Linked DNA regions of Homo sapiens: region 2 is linked to region 1. The links are contacts of gene promoters, found by promoter capture Hi-C in blood cells and fetal thymus (Javierre and others, 2016). All regions are on one chromosome and are shown on one strand. The core of a region is centred on a gene start or on the middle of the fragment in contact, and the rest is flanking DNA. Distances in the headings are between cores, read along the strand shown.

Region 1 (6,304 bases), core at 968-3,467:
CATTTATTCTAATGTTTAAGTTGGGGCAATTCCAATACATGAGCAAGTATTTTCCTTGGTTATGGCCCAAAGCACTGCCTTCTTCACTGAGAGGATACACAACTTACATCTACTAAAATCTGTTTCAGTGTTCACCTTTACAATAAAGCCATGAGACTTTTGTAAAAATAGAAATGATTCTGCCATTGACACAGGAACTGAAATAATCAAAACTGATACACAGAATCCAAATCTGAATAGCTAGATTGGTTCAAGAAGCTCGTGAGGCTTTTTCAAATTTATAAATGCAGCATGCTGTCAGCCTCCTCAGAACAATAGGGTAAAGAATAGCTTCTTCAAAACAGCTAGCAAAATACAACTATATGTTGAACTTTTTCGCATAAATAGCTAAAAACGTAACCACAAAGCTGTGTGGGTTTTCCCCCACCATGAGCATTATAAAGATATCTGGGAAAGTGATGTTTTGAGGTCCAAAAGCACCACTAATCAGCAGCACCTGGGGCAACGCCAGCCAAAAAGCCCTGAATTCTAGACAGAGTCCATTTTTTTCAGTTATAAAGACCCCATTTATCATCAAAACTTTTTCAAAACCTTATAATATTATCAACTAAGAAAATACGTGAAGCTACGTAAGTTCTAAACCATTCGTAATGAACTTGCACTGTATAAACAACAGCATCTACATACAAGCAAAAAAAAAAAATACTGCTCGAAAGTGAGACATCAGTTAGTCGGTCACTGCACTTGTTAGTTTTAAGGCCCCATGTTTTCTGACAGATCTCCAAGCCTGAAAACACCAGAACTATTTCTGCTTCTGTCGTGTGATGATCAATTAGGTCCTTTCAGATCTTGCAAATGATCCCTTTAGAGTGCCACTGTTCTACAAACACTCCTTTTGGGGCCAAAATAGGTATCTCTGACACGCTTTAAGATGATGAATTATTCTTGAATATGAGGAGGACTGGGAGTTAGTTCTCTTAAATAGGGAAGCACCCTTGCACACTCCTTTGGGATCCACATCTGAGAAAGTCCAAAGAAAAGAAAAAGGGCAACAGTTTGCCCCTGAAAGTGAGTTCAATTTCAGAGGGATATGTGAGGGCCTGTGCCAGAGGAATATTTTTGAAATGGGGGGAGTCTATAAGTTGCCCAGTCTAATCTCTAAAGGCCTCTCCGCAAGGCCCTGCTGCTCAAGATTCCTTCTGGCGAATCCCACTCTACAAACACTCAACAACTAAGAGTGCTACTGGCTCACATGGAGGGCTAACAAGACCTGCAAATCCAGGCTGCTCTGAAGGACGGTGGAAGATAACCAACCCCGAGCCACGAGATTTAGGACCCGACTTTTGGTTAACTTTCAAATTTCTTATGCCAGTAATATACTTCAGAGTGGCGCGGAGGGAATTGGAAAACATCACCAGGCAAAAAAAAGAAAAAAACTCTTTCACGAAACAAGACTTCCAATTAGAACACGTGTGGGGACAATAAGAAACACGTTCTAACCACCCCCAAAATTAAAATAAAACACAGCGAGCAACAAGAGAGACCTGCGCGCGCCCCACCGCCCGCGCGCGGCTCTCCGCAGGGTCACCGAGGGGTGAGGCCGCGCTCTCCCGGCGGCCGTCCAGGGGGAGGAGGCCCCGCGCCCCGCCCCGCCGCCCTCCAGCCGCCGCGGCCGCTCCGGGGTGTTCCCCAGATCTCTTCTCAATCAAGAGATGAAATTTGTGCCGTTTTGAAACTGAAGCCTCAAGTAGTCCAGACGTTTTCTGACCCACATCCGAGACGTTCTCGGCTTCCCGCCGCAACTTCCGAATTTGGGGAGGGGGCGGAGGCGGGCGGGCCAGGCCTGGCGACCGCACCTTGAGGGAGCGCGAGTCCCCTCGCTGCCCCGGGCCGCCGCAGGCGCCGGCGGCGGTCGGGGACGGCGCGACCCAGCCCGGGACCCCCGCCCGCCCCGGCTCGGGCGAAGTTTGCCGCGGCCCGGGGTCGCCCCGTCACTCGGCCTCCGTCGGGGACTGGGTCCCCGTAACCCGCAAGGGCGCCCGACCCCGACCCCGCCCGCCACCGCTCACTCACCTGCCCTGCGCCGGACGGCGAGCCCGCGGGCCGGCGGGGAGAGGCCGGGAGGCCCGGGCGGGGTCGGGGCGAGGCGGGTGAGGAGGCGGCGGCGGAGCCTAAGTCAGCCGAAGCGGCGGCGACCGCGGCTGAGGCGGCTGAGGCGGCGGTCGCGGCTTCAGGCGCTCCAGCCCGAGCGCTGCGCGCGGCGCGGGCCCGCCCCTCTGCGCCGCTAACCAATCTAGCGCCGCGCGCCGCCGCCGGCCCCGCCCCCGCCCAAGGGCAGGCTCGCGAAAGCGGGCGCCGCGGGCCAATGAAAGGGCGGAACATCAACCGGCGCGGCCAATCCGAGCCCGGAAAGTTCTCTGGAAAAAGCCAACTCCAGTCAAAGGGGCGGGGGTGGGGCTGGGGGCGGGGCGGGGACCTGGCCCAATGACGCGCGGGGCGGGGCCGAGCATTGGGCGGGGAGGAGGCGGGGCCTCGAACGGGCGGGCCGGTCACTAGTAGTGGGCGGGGTCGTAGGCGGGACATTGAGCGGGCGGGGCAAGAATCGGGGCGGGGGCCTAATGAAGTGAAGCGGGGAGGGGACGGGCAGTGGGAGGGGCAGGTCACATTTGGGGTGGGGTGGGGGCGGGGCAGGGGCGGGGCTGAGTACGGGAGGCCAGGCCGGGGAGAGGCCTAAGTCGGGGCGGGCGGGAGAAGGGCAAGAGCAGTGGGCGGGGCTCGGGGGTTAGGGGATTAGTGCCCTTGCTGGGGCGGGGCCCAGGCTTGGGGCGGGCCTGTGGTGGGCAGGGCCGTGGATGGGCGGGGCGAGCCTTCGTGGGCGGGCCAGGCCTGTGGTGGGCGGGGCGGGCCGTTGGTGAGCGAGACCTTGGTGGACGGGGCGGATCCGCGGTGGGCGGGGATTTGGCGGGCGGGCGGGTGGGCCCGACGGGACGGGAATGGCCGTTGAATTCCCAGCCGTGCCGCAACCCCGAAGGTCCCCCTGCAGCGCCCGCTTCCCGTTCTCTGTGGGCCTGGCCCCGGCCCGGAGGCTGGGGCCGCAGCGCCCGGCGGGCAGGGGCCCCGAGCGGCTCGTGAGCCTGTGCCCAGACGCTGCCCGCCCCGCGCTGGTCCCGCCGCCCTGTCCCCTCCGCCCGCCCGGCGTTCGCGTGCCGTGGCCTGGGGCGGGGCGTTGCTGGGCCCCGGGGGCTGCAGGGGGAGGCCGCCCTTTCTCTGGGCTGGCTCCGGGCTGTTCCGCTCCGCGCCGTTTTCCCGGTACTTCCCGCGGAGCCCGCCTCGCTGTGCGTCCCCGCCCGGGCGTTTCTTCCGCGGCGCTGAGCGCCCGCCCCGGCCTCGGGCAAGGGCAGCCGGACGCCCCGAGGACCAGGGCGCTGGGGCCGAGGCGCGTCCTCCGCAGTCGCCGCGCCTGGGCCCCGTTTCCCCGCGGGTCCTCGCCGGGGTGGGAGGCGCCTCTTGGCGTCCGTGGGGAGCTGGGTGTGGGGGGCGGCAGGGCAGGAGGTGGGGGGGCTGAGCCGGAGAAACGTCCTCGCCCCGCCCGAGACCTCAGACACCCCAGAACCTCGGGCCGGCAGCCAGCTGCAGGAATCGCGCCCTAAAGCCTGGGGTCCGCGCCCGCCCGCCTCCCGCGAGCGCCAGGGGCTGCCGGGTCACCGGGATGCAGCCTCGAGGCGACGTCACAGACCCCACGCGGCCCCCCGAGCACCCCCGGAGCCGGCGCGGGGACAGGGGTTCGGGATGGACGGAACCCACGCAGGGAACGTTCCGGGCCGTCTACGCCAGGCTCAGGGCGGCCGTCAGCTGGGGTTGGAGGTGGGTCAGGAAGAGATGTGTCCTTTTGTCTCCAAATGTCGCTTGTGTCATTAAAAGACAACCTTAAAATAGAAGAAAAAAAAAAAAAAAAAGCCTGGGCTGGCGTGAGGAGGGGCCGTCCGCGAGCTACGGAGGCTGAGTCGGCGGGGAAGGGAATGTGGAGTGGGGCGGGGGGGGCGCTTGGCGAACCCGTGCTTTGGACGCGCTTGGCGGTTTCGGGGAGAATGAGAATGGAGGGGAGGGAGGCCAAGGCCTGCAGCCTGGTGGGAATGCTGGGAAGGACGCTGTGGACAGGACCTTACTGGAAATGAACCAGAAGGGAAGGTGGGCCGGGCGCGGTGGCTCGCCCCTTAATCCCAACGCTTTGGGAGGCCGAGGCAGAAGGATCGCTTGAGCCCAGGCGTTGGAGACCCGCATGGGAAACATCGTGAGACTCTGTTTTTAGAAAAGGAGGAGGAGAAGGGATACTGGGCGGCCTCTGCCACACCTGGACTCTGCGGGCAGGGGGCCAGAGGGACCCAGGGCTGCTGTGCTGGAGCTGGAGCTGGCGCGAGGGTCTGGGCAGAGCACTGTCAGCGCCCCCAGATTACAGGCTGCCAGCCTCCCCCGGTCCTCTGCGGGAGCCTGCGGCCTCAGCTGCCTGCCCCGCCGGCTGAAAGACACAGTTAGTCATTAGGAAAGTAATGATAGTGTTTTCAGGGCAGCGTGTTAGACCCTAAAGACTTTCTATTATTTGCAGTTCCTGCCAACCCTGTGAAGAAAAAAAGCAGCTCATCTCTCACGCCCCGCCTCTTGACACACGCTGATCCGGCCTGGTTCTGGGTTTTCCCGGAGCCTGCAGGGCAGCCCCGCCCCAGGCGGCAGCAGCTGGGCCTGCAGCGTGTCCCTCATGGTGCCCGGCCTCCAGGTCCAGAGTTTCCTGCCTCCCTGAGCTCGGGGTGCGCTGTCTCCACCCTCTCATGGCCGTCAGGGTGCTGGTCCCGTCAGAAGTGCACCCAGGGGCTCGCATTTATAAATAACTCCAGGGTGTCTTGCTGTGGGTTTGGAAATCGGGAAGGCAGGTTATCATCTGCTTGGAATGATGTCAGATCCAGCCCCAGGAAGTCTCCCAGCACCCGGCCTTCCTGCTTGTCATGGGCTGGGACATCTGGAGGGGTAGGGGCGAGGGCCTTCTGTAGCTCCACATTAGCTGGCTAAAGTGTGGGGAAAACAGTAACACACAGAAAGCAATCATAATAGTAATTAACGTCAAAACCTTGCAAGATGTTTAGGCCTCCCAGGAGCCCTGGAGAAGCCCAGCCCTTCCACATAACACCAGCACTCCCAGCGGCAGGGCCTCCATCCCCCTGCTGGGGAGGGAGATCCGGAGTCTGGGTGGAGTGTGTGGTCTCTGGCCTTCAGCAGGACTACACTCCAGGCTGAGCCTTTCCTCAGGCAGAATTCATACCCTTACCTCAGCCTACAACCCCAGCACACATGTTACCTAGGGGCAAATTAGTACTTTGCCCTCATGTCCTCTTCACAAAGCACTGGGGTAGAAGTCCTTCTTCCAGGGACCAGCAGCACCCAGCCCCTGCTTCCCCAGGCTCCTGCCCTGCACAGGGACCGCTGCCACTGCCCACCAAAAGCTGCTGGGGGGTGTTGGGGCTGGCTCAGCTGAGCTCACACAGGATCCTCTGATGGCCAAAGTGCTGGAGTGGAAATCAGAGACCAAGAAGCCAATCCCTGTGCCAGCTGCCCTGGTTAGGGAAATACAGAAACTAAAAATAGTTCCCACTTCCGCTTCCTCCTTTTTATATCAGCCTCATCATAAGTGCACCTGACCTAACTTACCTGGTGCTGTGGTGTTTGTACTTGGATTAGGTGAAGCAGCTCAGGGGTCCCCTCATGCCCTCTCCCCTGTCCCCCTGCTGAAGAGGCAGCTCCCACATGCGGCACTGCCTGACTGGCCCCTGGCCTGGGCCTGGGACCCTGCAGAGAGACAGCAAGCCATGGCCAGAAGGCTTGCAAGGTGCCCCCAGCTTGGGTGATGGTGACACCCAGAACAGGGCACTTCCTGGAAATGTGATCTGGAAGGGCAGTGGGCATGAGTGGAGCATGGAAAGAGACACCCAGGACGGACGGAGAGAGGCATCTGGTGTAGGTGGGGCTGCAGCCACCTCTCCTCTTCGGGGCTGGCAAGGTAACCCTTGCCCTGTGCCCCACAGCTGCCCTGATTTCCGGGTGTCTCCCAGAAGCACACTCTGCACTGCTTCTGCATCCCGGCCACTCCTTCAGTGTCCAGCCCCCTTCCCCAGCATAGAATGAACACAGAGAGGATGGGGAGTGCCTGCTCTGCCGACATGAGGGGCTGGCAGTGACATCTGTCCCTGTCATAGGCACAAAAAGTTATCAATGTTGGTAAGCTGGATTCAAGCCATGCACGGAAGCAGATGGCTCT
Region 2 (6,473 bases), core at 2,820-5,319, 240 kb before region 1:
TGCCCTTGGCACCCGCGGCAATGAGGCCTCCTCCACACCTCACCACATCCTCTGCCCTTGGCACCCGCAGCAATGAGGCCTCCACACCTCACCACATCCTCTGCCCTTGGCACCCGCGGCAATGAGGCCTCCACACCTCACCACGTCCTCTGTCCTTGGCACCAGCGGCAATGAGGCCTCCTCCACACCTCACCACATCCTCTGCCCTTGGCACCCGCGGCAATGAGGCCTCCTCCACACCTCACCACATCCTCTGCCCTTGGCACCCGCAGCAATGAGGCCTCCACACCTCACCACGTCCTCTGCCCTTGGCACCCGCGGCAACGAGGCCTCCTCCACACCTCACCATGTCCTCTGTCCTTGGTACCAGCGGCAATGAGGCCTCCTCCACACCTCACCACGTCCTCTGCCCTTGGTACCAGCAGAGGCCGAGTGGAAAGCCTGGACTTTCACTTCTTGTTTCCCCTGCTGGAGAAGTATCAGAGGCAGCCAGCTAAACAGAAGGTTTATATAACCAGAGTCTCATAACGTAATATCCAGAAGGTCCAGATTTCAAAAAGAAAATCACCTGTTATACAAAGAACCCAAAAGATCTCAAACTGAATGAAAGACAGTGTCAGCCCCAGGATGACAGAGCTGTCGGAATCCTCTGACAAAGAAGTGAAAGCAGCCTTCATAAAAATGCTTCAGCAAACAAGCAGGAACACTCTTTAAACAAATGAGAAAACAGAATAGAATACCTCCACAGAGAAGCCAGTTCCCACCAAGCTAATGGGAGATGCAGGCAACTGAAAGGGAACGACAGAACTAGAAAGAACCATAACAGAGTGAAAGAGTCAGGGGAGAGAAGCAGGGAGCTGTGAGAAAAAACAACAGAAAGTACCCCGTCCCAACAAGAGGGAGAACACAGACCGAAGACACACAGATGGGGCCCCTGAGACCTGTGGGACATGGGGAGGACCTAACATTCATGTCCTTAGGGTACCAGAAAAAGAGAACAAAGGGGATGGGGATAAAGGCTCTTGAAAAAATAATGGCTAAAACTTCCCAAATTTGGCAAAAAGTAAAAACCTACATATTTGAGAAGCTGAGTAAACCCCAAACAGGATAAATCCAAGGAAATCCACACAAACACACATTGTAGTCAAGAGTCTAAAAACCAAAGGCAAAGAATAATTCTTGCAAGCAGCAAGAGGGACATGACCCCATGCTACAGGAGGGAGACAATGGATGGCGTGGATTTCAGGCGAGAAGCACGGAGGCCAGGAGGACGTGGCCCCGAACTGCTCAGTGCTGAAAAGGACAGAAGTGCCAACTGGAATGATATATCCAGTGAAAATAATCAGGAATAAAGACATTATGGGATGAAGGAAAATGAAGAGAAGTTGCTGCCAGCGTGCCTACGCTGGGAGAAGGCCTAAGTCCTCTAAACAGAAATGAAATAATGATGAAATCTTGGAATATCAGGAAGGAAGAAAGAACATAGTAGGCAAACATGTGAGTGCATAGAAAGGCTTCACTCTCGAGTCCTCTAAACTATGATTGATGACTGATGCAAAAATTACAGCATTGTCTGATATGTACAGAATGCTTAGGAAATATTTAAAGCAACTACATCATAAATGAGGGACAGTAAAAAAATTATAAAGGAAGTTACAGTTTCTTCCCTCCAACTGGTGAAATGTTGACAGCAGTAGAATTGGTAACACATATATGCCTGGGCAACATGGCAAAACCCTGTCTCTACAAAAAAATTTAAAAAATTAGCTGGGTGTGGTGGTGCCTGTCTGTGGTCCCAGCTACTGGGGAGGCTGAGGTGGGAGGACGGCTGGAGCCTGGTTAGTCGAGGCTGCAGTGAGCCATGATCGTGTCACTGCACTCCAGCCTGGGCAACAGAGCAAGATCCTGTCTCAAACATTATACATGCACACACACGTGACATATATGTATATTTAGATGTGCATGCATGTTGCATATGTGTATGTTATATATGTGTATGTATACATGTGTATATACATGTGCTACATATATATATTTGTGTGTGTATATATATGCTATATACTTAGTATTCAGTATGTGTGTATATATATGATATACTACCTACAGCAAGCACTAAAAAAGAAAGCCATACAGATATATACTCTAAAATGCTACTGATAAAATAAAATTCCAAAAAAATGTACACTGACTCACAGGAAGAAAGAAAAAACTAAAACCAGAGAAACAAAAAACAAAGCCAACAAAATTAAAAATGAGGCTGGGTGCGATGGCTCACGCCTGTAATCCCAGCACTTTGGGCGGTCAAGGTGGGAGGATCACTTGAGCCCAGGAGTTCAAGGCCAGCCTGGGCAACACAGGAATACCTAGTCTCTACAAAATATAAAAATAAATTGGCTGGGCATGGTGGTGCATGCCTGTGGTCCCAGCTGCTTGAGAGGCTGGGGTGGGGGGATCACTTCAGCCCAGAAGAGGCTGCAGTGAGCCATGATCACACTACTGCACTCCAGCCTGGATGACAGAGTAGGGCCCTATCTCAAAATAAATAAATACAAAAGATAAATAAAAGGTGAAATGGCAGATTTAAGCCCTAACATCTCAATACCGTAATAACTTTAAGTATAAATGGTCCAAATACACCAATTGAAGCACAGATGGGCAGAGTGGATTTAAAAATATGACCCCATCATATGCTGTCTACAGAAAACTCACTTCAAATAGAACAATATAAGCAAACTGAAGATAAACTAATGGGAAAAGGCGTATCGTGCAACCATTAATCAAAAGAAAGCAGGAATGGCTATATTAATATCGGAAAAAATAGACGTCAGAGCAATGAAAATGATCAGAGACAGAGAAGGACATTACATAATGATAAAAGAGTCTAAATAAGCAATAGCAATCCTAAATGTGTATGAATCAAATAACAGAGCTGTAAAATATGTGAAGCAGAAACTAATAGTAGTGAAAAGAAAAATATAAAAATCCACAACGACAGCTGAAGACTTTATTACTGTCAACAACTGAAAGAACCACTGGGCAGAGAATTAGCAAAGGATTTGGAAGGACTCAACACCATCAACCAACGGGGCCTAACGAACACTTCCGGAACACTCTGTCCAGCATCAGCAGAATCCACACTCTCTTCCTGCATGTACAGAATCTATACCAGGATAGACCATACCCTTGGCCATAAAAGAAACCTCAGCAAATTTAACAGAATTGAAACCGTAGTGTATGTTCTCTGACCACAGCTGACTCAAACCAGAATCAATCATGGAAAGATAACAAGAAAAGTTCCAAGCACTTGGAAATGAAACACATATATGAACAATCCAAGGGTCAAAGAGGGAATCTCAAGGAACATCAAAAAACACATTGACCTGAATGAAAATAAAAACACAGCATATCAAAAATCGCAGGACACAACTACAGCAGTGCTGAGAGGGAAACCTGTGGCACGAAACACACACATTTGAAGAGAGAAAAGCTTCCAATCAATAATCTAAGCACTCATTTTAAGAATCTAATAAAAGAAGAACAAAATAAATCCAAGTAAGCAGAGGAATGAAATACTAAAGACCAGAACTTGGCGCTGGTGTAAGAACGACATGCAGGCCGGTGGAGGAGAGCGGAGAGCCTGGCAGGAAACCCCGCAGCTGCAGCCAATCCATCTACAATAAAGACACCAGGAACACACACGGGGAAGGACAGTTTCTTCAATAAACGGTGTTGGGGAAACTGGATGTCCCTGTGCAGAAGAATGAAATTAGACCCTCATCTCACACCATCTATAAAAATCAACTCAAAATGGGTTAAAGACTTAAATGTAAGATCTGCAACTGCAAAACCACTAAGAAAAAACACAGGGAAAAATTCCACGACACTGGTTTAGTTAATGATTTTTTTTTAAATATGGCCCTCAAAGTACAGGCAACAAAAGCAGAAAGTAGAGAAATGGGATTATATCAAACTGAAAAGCTTCTGCACAGCAAACAACAGAGTGAAGAGACAACCTAGGGAACTGGAAAAAAAACTGCAAACCATACAACATCTGATAAGGAGTTAATACTCAAAATGTGTAAGGAACTCAAACAACTCAATAGCAAGAAAACAAATACCAGATTTTAAAAAAATGGCAAAGAAACGGAATGGAAGCTTCTCAGAAGGAGACATACAAATGGCTAACAGGTATATGAAAAAGTGCACAACATCACTAATCACCAGAAAAATGCAAATTCAAACCACAATGGGATATCGGCTCATACCTGTTAGAATGGCTATTATCAAAAAGACAAAAGCTAAGTGTTGGTGAGGAGGTGGACAAAAGGGAACCCTTGTACAGTGCTGATGGGAAACTTAGTACAGTCATTATGGAGAACGGTACGGAAGTTCCTCAAAAAACTAGAAATAGAACCACCACAGGATCCAGCAGTCTCACTTCAGGGCATATACCCAAAGTCACTATAGTGAGGAGACACATGCAGGCCCGTGTTGATTGTGGCACAACTCACAACAGCCTAGATATGGTGGAATCAGCCTAAGTGTTCATAGAGAGACGAACGGATAAAGAAAATGTCACACACAGACATACACACAGAAAGAAGCCATGTCATCTGTGTCACTGCGGATGAACCTGGAGGACATTATAACAAGTAAAATGAACTGGGCACAGAAAGACAAATACTGCATGATCTCACATGTGGAATCTAAAAAAGTGCATCTCACAGAAGCAGAGGGTGGGAGGTGGCTGTCGGGGACTGCGGGGGGTTGGGGGAAATGGGAGCTGTTGGTCACTGGCACAAGTTCAGTTAGACGGGAGTCAAACAGGCTGGGGAGCTGCTGTGTGGCACAGTGACTATGGGTAAGAACAATGTATACTTGAAAATTGCTGAGAGTGATTTTAAATTCTTTATAGAGATGGGGTCTCTCTATGTTGCCTAGGCTGTTGCCTGAGGTAGGCAGGTCACTGGAGTCTAGGAGTTCAAGACCAGCCTGGGCAAAATAGACCCCATCTCTACAAAATGTTGAAAAAATTAGTTGGGTGTGGTGGAGTGCACCTGTGGTCTCAACTCCTGGGAGACAGGTGGGAGGATCACTCGAACCTCACCACAAACAAAGGTATGTGAGGTGATGGATATGTTAATTAGCTTGATTTAATAATTTCACACACAAAAAACATGAACACATAGAATTCAGCAATATACCACAAGAATTACATGCTATAACCATTCTTCCTGTGATGCAAGGCTGGCTCAGAGTTGGAAAATCTGTCTGTGTAATCTACCTTATTAACAGACTAAAGAAAGCACACAATCATATCAATGCATGCAGAAAAGCCTGTCACAAAACTCCATACCAACTCACGATAAAAATTAAAATGCTCAGAAAAAAACAGGAATAGAGGGGAACTCGCTCAGCTTGATGAAGGCCAGCCAGGAAAGCAGCCACAGCTGTGGCCCGCAGCTGGCCCAGGCATGTCCACTCAGGAGCACTTGGCTGGGCATGAGCTGCCTGACGCTGCCAGTGAGCTTCTAAGCTTGGACTCACCCCGTGCTGAAGCCCCTGGGTACCTTCCCACTGCTGTGCTGTTTAACCCCGGCCCTGAGCCTCCCGTCCAGAGCCCAGCACCTACCCCCTTGGTCTTGTTTGTCACTGCTCCCTGCCCTCCCGCTGGCTCCCTGGCTTCCGTGGCAGGGACAGGGTGAGTTCTCCCACCCACTTATCAGGACCTTCTTCTGGAGGGTATTGCCTACCAGGCTGTACCTACAACCCCGTCTCTCCTGGCCCTGCTGCAGTCACCTGGGGCCACCCTGGCACCGAGAGGGCAGAGGGCACACGTGTCTCCTCCGTTCACCACTGAATCCCCAGTTCCCAGCACCACTCTTGGCCCACAAGGGGGCGCAGTATGTATTTAAGGATTAGACAGATTCACACCATGAGCACTGAGCCCAGCTCAATTTCCACGGCCTCGTGGAACGTTCTGAAATTCAGCGATTTCTAAACTCAATACTCAGAAGCACCGTAATCCTATTTTCTCCCACACCACCCACTCCTGCGTTTTTCATTCAGACAGTCACTGAGGGTTTGCTGGGGGTCTGCTGTGGGGGTCCCTGTGGCCCACAGAGGCGGCACAGGGCTGGGTTTGGGCCATGGCAGAAGAAGTTGTGTGGGGTCAGGACCGCGGCGCCCCAGGCGCTCCCCTCCCCTCCGAGGCCCAGGGCCAGCAGGGTAGAGCTTTCCAGGAGGGCAACTGGGGAACCAGGCAACAGTCCTGCTTTCGAAGGCTGGCCGTGACTTGCAAATCCACCAGCTCCCAGAAGAGGCCAGAGGAAAACCACTCACGACAGGAACGTCTTGTCAATAAAAAGGATGCAGAGAAAAATGCCACGAAACCAGGATGGACTCTCACGCCACACAACAAACGCAGACAGCAGAGAACTGCCACCGTTTTGCAAGCTCTTGAAACCCATGAT

Evidence for each region. Contacts are between HindIII fragments. The CHiCAGO score rates a contact against its expected background, and 5 or more counts as called.
Region 2: a contact is called between a fragment that was not itself captured here and the fragment with the promoter of PCBP3 in region 1, in 1 of 17 cell types (naive CD4 T cells). The highest score is 6.8, in naive CD4 T cells.

What each region holds. Positions count from the first base shown.
Region 1 is chr21:45,639,638-45,645,941 of GRCh38, reverse strand. PCBP3 (poly(rC) binding protein 3) reads right to left here and starts at 2,217. Exons shown (of 18, transcript NM_001384156.1): 1 at 2,074-2,217. RefSeq lists silencers at 1,563-1,702, 2,023-3,012. The HindIII fragment of the contact is 8,393 bases long and covers 1-6,304 here.
Region 2 is chr21:45,880,018-45,886,490 of GRCh38, reverse strand. All of the region lies in intron 5 of PCBP3 (poly(rC) binding protein 3), which reads right to left. Among named protein-coding and RNA genes, the nearest start is that of PCBP3-AS1, 47 kb to the right of the region's middle. RefSeq lists an enhancer at 5,112-5,916. The HindIII fragment of the contact is 177 bases long and covers 3,981-4,157 here.